Regions from separate parts of the Homo sapiens genome. Here region 2 is linked to region 1. The links are contacts of gene promoters, found by promoter capture Hi-C in human tissues and cell types (Jung and others, 2019). All regions are on one chromosome and are shown on one strand. Each heading gives the region's core, a stretch centred on a gene start or on the middle of the fragment in contact. The rest is flanking DNA. Distances are from core to core; before and after follow the strand shown. Region 1 holds the start of UCN3 (urocortin 3). Region 2 has its middle 15 kb from the start of LINC02561.

What was found. Contacts are between HindIII fragments. The study calls those that stand out against the background at their distance.
Region 2: a fragment that was not itself captured here is called in contact with the fragment with the promoter of UCN3 in region 1 in 2 of the 25 tissues and cell types used here (H1 embryonic stem cells and heart left ventricle).

What each region holds. Positions count from the first base shown.
Region 1 is chr10:5,363,574-5,366,425 of GRCh38, reverse strand. UCN3 (urocortin 3) reads right to left here and starts at 1,460. Exons shown (of 2, transcript NM_053049.4): 1 at 1,196-1,460. The HindIII fragment of the contact is 10,177 bases long and covers 1-2,852 here.
Region 2 is chr10:5,284,334-5,287,507 of GRCh38, reverse strand. It overlaps the pseudogene AKR1C7P. Among named protein-coding and RNA genes, the nearest start is that of LINC02561, 15 kb to the right of the region's middle. RefSeq lists an enhancer at 2,748-3,042. The HindIII fragment of the contact is 3,084 bases long and covers 99-3,174 here.

The sequences.
Region 1 (2,852 bases), core at 211-2,710:
AAAGTTTAAGATTTCTCTGCAGTCTGCCACGAAAATAACTGGGCACCATCTAGTTATTAATACATTTGAGGGGCAAAGCTCTACACCTGTATTTTTCTCTGGGTGCCTGAAACTCAACCATTCCTTTGGGCTATGGTGACAGTAGCACTTGTCGAGGATGCTGTAAAGAGACACAGTTACTTCTGGGAGCTGTGGCAGAGCCAAGCACTGAAACGTGAGGGACCTGGGTCAGCCTCCAATTCCCAGCACCTCACAGGGAGAGGACAGGACATGAAGCAGCAAAGGCAGGAGGCAAACAGTACTGATCACACATCTCTGCCAAGTGCAGAGCTATTCCTGTGGGCTCCGTTTGTCTGCAAACACTGATAAGAAGTTAAACTGAAACTAGACCACTTAAAACGTTTTAAAAATCTCACATTTGTTATTTTTGGTAGGTGGCTATGCTTGGGAAAGAAATTGCGAACAGGAATTTTCAGAAAACATAAACATCAAACATCCATCTCCCCTTCACAGGTAGGAGTTAGCCATTGTAGGTATCTGCACACACCCCCGCAATGTTCCTAGTGTGGCAAAGGGCTCTGGGCTTTGGTGGCAGAGGACCTGGCTGGGGAAACTCCCTTGCCTCTGACTTTTCTTGGGTGAATCCCTTAACCTGCATTTCACTTGCCGCGTCCTAGGAAGGAGACGTTACCTGCTTCACAGGTGTGCCCGAGAGTGACGGGAGATGGCACAGGTGAAGGTTTGTGGCACAGGTAAACAGTAAGTGCAGGTGTCCTCGCTGCTTTGCAGGCGGCGTGGAGTCATGTCCTGTGGCTCCCATTAGCCCCGGCATCCCTACCCCATCCCCATTTGTAAACTGTCTCCGAGGACTGACTTTCCTGTGCACAGCTGTGCTCTGTTCAGAGAAAACAGATTTGTGTGAACACCTTCTGCCTCTGATCTAACACCTTTGGAAAGAGGGTCTCTCTATACCAACGTGGGAATGTGATTGTGCCTCCCTGAGAAACTTCCCCTGGTCCCTTTGGGGCTGATTTCTGCTGATTGGGTGGGGGGCGTTCAGCATCGCTCCCTTGGGCTTCCACCCAGGGGCGCTAGCAGCTCTCATCTCTCACACCTGTCTAGTGCATGGCACCTCCTGCTTAAATTAGGGCAGATACATTTACCCTTCATAAGTCAGTCCCAGCCACAAGCTTACCCGAGAGTGGACTTCCCTCCGCAGCGAAACGCTCAGGGAGGCCGGCGCAGCTTCAGGGCCAGGAGGGCGGCCCCGTGCACGTCCCCATGAACTTGTGGCTGCTCCGGGGTCTCGGCTCCTGCTTCTCCGGTATTGTTCCTAAGTGGGCTGTGATATTCCCTCTCTATGGAAACGGTCCCCTCCCCTGTGTGTATATAAAAGTGACAGATCACAGGGTGGATCGTAATTCCAGACGTGGTGTCTACGCTGGGATGAGATTTCATTTAAAATACAACCAGAACCAGCCGTCCACGTCATGCAGACGACAGGTGCTCCAACCTCGACCCCTCCCACCTCTGCTTCCCACCCCGCCCTTCTACCCCCCAACTCCTTTTGCATCCTAGCAACTTGCTTCATTGATAAAAGCAAAGAACAAAAAAGAAAAAGAAGAAATAAAAACTCAAAACAAAACAAAACAAAAATCCTGGTAAAGTGAGAAGCAGTGTCTTTGAAGAATTTTATTGCTGATCTTAGTTCTAACTAATTTCAGTTTCCCCCACATTCCCCTTGCCCTAACTCTCCTTCTGTAAATGTAGAGCCTGGACCTGCTTTGAAAGCAGAGAAGGGGTTTAAAATCCACCTGTTGCCGTGTTGTTTTGTGGGTTCTGACCGTGCAGCGTCATCTGGCCGCACACGTAGCCCCTTGTGCTTGTCACACACTCGGTGCCTACTCCCCACATAAAGTCTAATTATGCAAGTTTCTCCTTTCACATTCCTTGGGCTCTTCTGCCGTACCCTCAGTGAAACAACACGAAAGTTTAAGATTTCTCTGCAGCCTGCCGCGAAAATGACTGAGCACCATCTATTTGTTAATACGTTTGAGGGGAAAGCTCTACACCTGCATTTTTCTCTGGATACCTGAAACTCAACCATTCCTTTGGGCTATGACAGCAGGTCATCATACACCAGAGGTCTGGAGGTTTTAGTGGGAAATGGCTTGGATTTTACTCGTTTATGCATCCTATATTTATTGAGGACTTACTGTGTACCAGGTATTGCCAAGACACCCACGAGTTCAGAGATAAGTAAGTTGTGGCCCCTAACCATACAGGGCCTCATGGTTTAGAAAGGTAGGGAAGGCTGGGTGCGGTGGCTTATGCCAGTAATCCCAGCACTGTGGGAGGCCGAGGCGGGCAGATCACGAGGTCAGGAGTTCAAGACTAGCCTGGCCAACATGGTGAAACCCCGGCTCTACTAAGAATACAAAAAAAATTAGCCGGGCATGGTGGCGAGTGCCTGTAATTCCAACTACTCAGGAGGCCAAGGCAAGAGAATCACTTGAACCTGGGAGGTGGGGGTTGCAGTGAGCTGAGATGGCGCCATTGCACTCCAGCCTGGGCAACAGAGTGAGACTCCATCTCAAAAGAAAGAAAGAAAGAAAGGTAGGTAAAAAATGCTACAGAAGAGAGCAGTCCTGTCTACTCAAGACAGGAGAGGAGAGCAGGAGGGGTTTCAGACAGAAAGGATGGATCAGCATGGACTGAGCCAGGGCTGAGAGGAACGGGAGAGAAGGAGGACGATGGGAGGGAGGTGTTGGTGGGTGCAGAGGCTGCTCTGCACTAAGGTGCTCCAAAGGCCTGCGGAGTTGGGAGTTTATTCCATATGTAATGGGGAGATG
Region 2 (3,174 bases), core at 391-2,890, 79 kb after region 1:
ACTAAGTGAAAAAGAAGCTTCCTTAATACTCTAATTGGTGTTTTTACCTTAAGTCACTGCAGGAACGAGAAGCTTTTTTCCTGCGTGTGTGTTGTGCTGTCTTTTGTCCTGCTGTTCTAGGAAGCTTGCTAGGGCAGAATCTCAGATGTAGTCATTAGACTATCCACTGTTTGAAATTTGAGGCAGAGCGTGTACATATTATCATCCTAACGTTGCAACGCCAGCTTGGTGAGGTGACGTCTGTGTCCTGGGTAAAACCAGGCCAACTATTGACTGCAACCCTTACTAATAACATAAACAGTTGATTAACACCTATTTTGCATGTTATATGTATGGTATACTGTATTCTTATAATACAGCAAGCTAGAGAAAAGTAAGCTAGAGAAAAGAAACTCAAGAAAATCATAAGGAAGAGACAATATATTTGCTACTCATTAAGTGGAAGTAGATCATTACAAAGGTCTTCATCCTTGTCTTCTTCACACTGTGTAGGCTGAGGAGAAGGAGGAAGATGAAGGGTTGGGGTTGCTGTCTCTGGGGTGGCAGAGGCAGAAGAGGTGAAGGAGGGGGAAGGGAGGCAGGAGAAGTAGGCACACTTTGTAATTTTGATTGAAAAAAATTCATGTATAAGTGGGACTGTGCAGTTTAAACCTGTGTTATTCAAGGGTCAGCTGTAATATGTATGTAGTGTGTGTGTGTGTGTGTGTGTGTGTGTGTCGATTGACCTGTCCTTCCTATTGAGTGCCTTAGAAAAATTCTCCCAGTATCAGAAGTTTTCCCGTTGGTTATTCTTGTACAATTGATTCATATGGAATGAGATGTGATTTTTCCATGCTCCAGGGTGAAGCCAATTCCACTAATTTATTTGGGAGTAGAAGCTTACAGGAGGTTAGTTGCTGTCCTCGGAGTGTGCAAGTCTATCATGGAAACCCAAATGATCAAAAGGGGAGCAGGAGGCCAGCAGACTATGAAGATGCTATTGGATAGCAGAGACATGGGCTCAACCTAAATGCCCGTCCGTGGTAGACCAGATAAAGAAAATGTGGTACATAAACACCGTGGAATACTGTGAAGCCACAAAAAAGAACTAGATCACGTCCTTTGCAGCAACATGGATGAAATTTGAGGCCATTATCCTAATCAAACTAACACAGAAACAGAAAACCAAATACTGCACGTTCTCACTTACATGTGGGAGCTGAACAACACACAGGGATACTGGGAGGGGAACGACAGACATCGGGACCTTTTGAGGTTGGAGGATGGTGGAGGGAGGGGATCAGAAAAAATATTTATTGGGTACTATGCTTATTACCCAGGTGACAATCTGTACACCAAACCCCTGTGACACAGTTTACACATATAACAAACCTGCACATGTGTCCCTGAACCCAAAGTAAAAGATTAAAAAAAAAAAGGAAAATGCCATTGTGGAAATACATGGATTTTCTCTGAGTCAGGCAGATCGTTGACTCCTCTTACTCCTGTTTTATAGACCCCCAAGAGCAAGGCTGGTGAAGCCACCGAAGTGGCTATTGATGCAGGCTTCCGTCACATTGATGCGGCGTTCTTCTACCAAAACGAGGAGGAGGTCGGAAAGGCCATTCGAGAGAAGATTGCTGATGGCCCTGTGAAGAGAGAGGACATTTTCTACACCACTGAGGTGAAATTTCTGTGTGTGCAGTGGCCAGAGGCCACCGTCAGTTCAGATGTATTATTTAGAAAAACAATGTGGTCTCAGAACAATGTATTTACCTAATATTGTGAAGGCACATTATCAAAACATAGGAACAATGTATTTCTTACCTAATATTGTGAAGGCACGTTATGAAAACATAGAAAAGGCTTTTCTCTGAGATGTGTGAAAGGTGGGACACTGTTCTTCAATGTCTCTGAGCGGCAGGTATTATTCATATATGAGATGAGATCGATAATACTTAAGTAACTGTTATACGATTACCCAAGGCATTCTGGGGCCACTCCGTTGATTGTTCAGTAATTGTTCTCAGGACGTATCAAGTGAGGTTGGGATGTTATTCAGAAAAGGGAGCCAGACTGGGAAATACTTTTTTATTTTTCAACTCAGCATTGAGTTTCCTGAATGTTATAACATTTTCCTAGGGTGGAAAACCTTTCTTCCAATGTAAATAAAGCCTTGGTTACTGGCGATACAGCCTATGCCTGTTTACACTGACGACAACTTGTTTTTAGAATGCATCTCTCAGCAGAATTGTTTTGAGGAATTCATTATACAGGACAGTAGATTCCATTCCCCGTGTCCTGACATTTCTCGACTGCTCTCAGAGGACGATGCCATTAACCCTTGATGCATTAAAGTTGATTTTCCTGCTCCATCTAAGTTTTATTCACAGTTTTCTTACATTGCAGTCATTCAAGTAAATCTCAGCATCTCATCAAGGATGTAATTTACCCTGAATAATACAAATGTAGCCCCAGTTCTTCTAGTTTGAGACCACAGTGTTTTGTTACTCATGTGTCAATTTCTGTTATGTTTAATTTTGGTCCCCAAGTGTGTGAAATCATAAGCTACTTTTTATTTCTTTTGTTCACTGCAGCTTTGGACAACTTTCTTTAGACCAGAATTAGTTCGCCCAGCCCTGGAAGGGTCACTGAAGAAACTTCAACTGGACTATGTCGATCTCTTCATTATCCACAATCCATTGGCTATGAAGGTCAGCTTTTGTTTTTTCCTTCTTATGCCCCAAACAGTTTCATCACTGTTACTAGCACCTCCATTGTCTCATTCCAGCTTGATTTCCTGGGTTCTTTCCGAGAGGGGTAGGTTTGAGTGAATTGCATAGAATTGCTAAATCATTCACGAGTCTCCTTCACAGCCGAATGACATTGCAATTTTCTGTCTGTGCTCATCCCCCAGCCTTAAGCGAGATGCAGGTTCGATGATCTCACTTCCTCTATGCTAGAAACATGAGGGCATTGCCCTGCATTTCTTAGTGCTTGTGTTCCTGAGTGTAGGTTCTGAGCTATTAGGTTACTACAGACTACAGAGATACAACGTGAAATCTCCACCTCTTTATGGTGAGGGTCTCTCCCGTATGTACCCTCAGCCCACAGGAGAGAGAGGTACATGGGATGGCACATGTGGCACAACTGGACTCCTTTGGGCTTCAGTGATCCAACCTCTCATCACAGTGG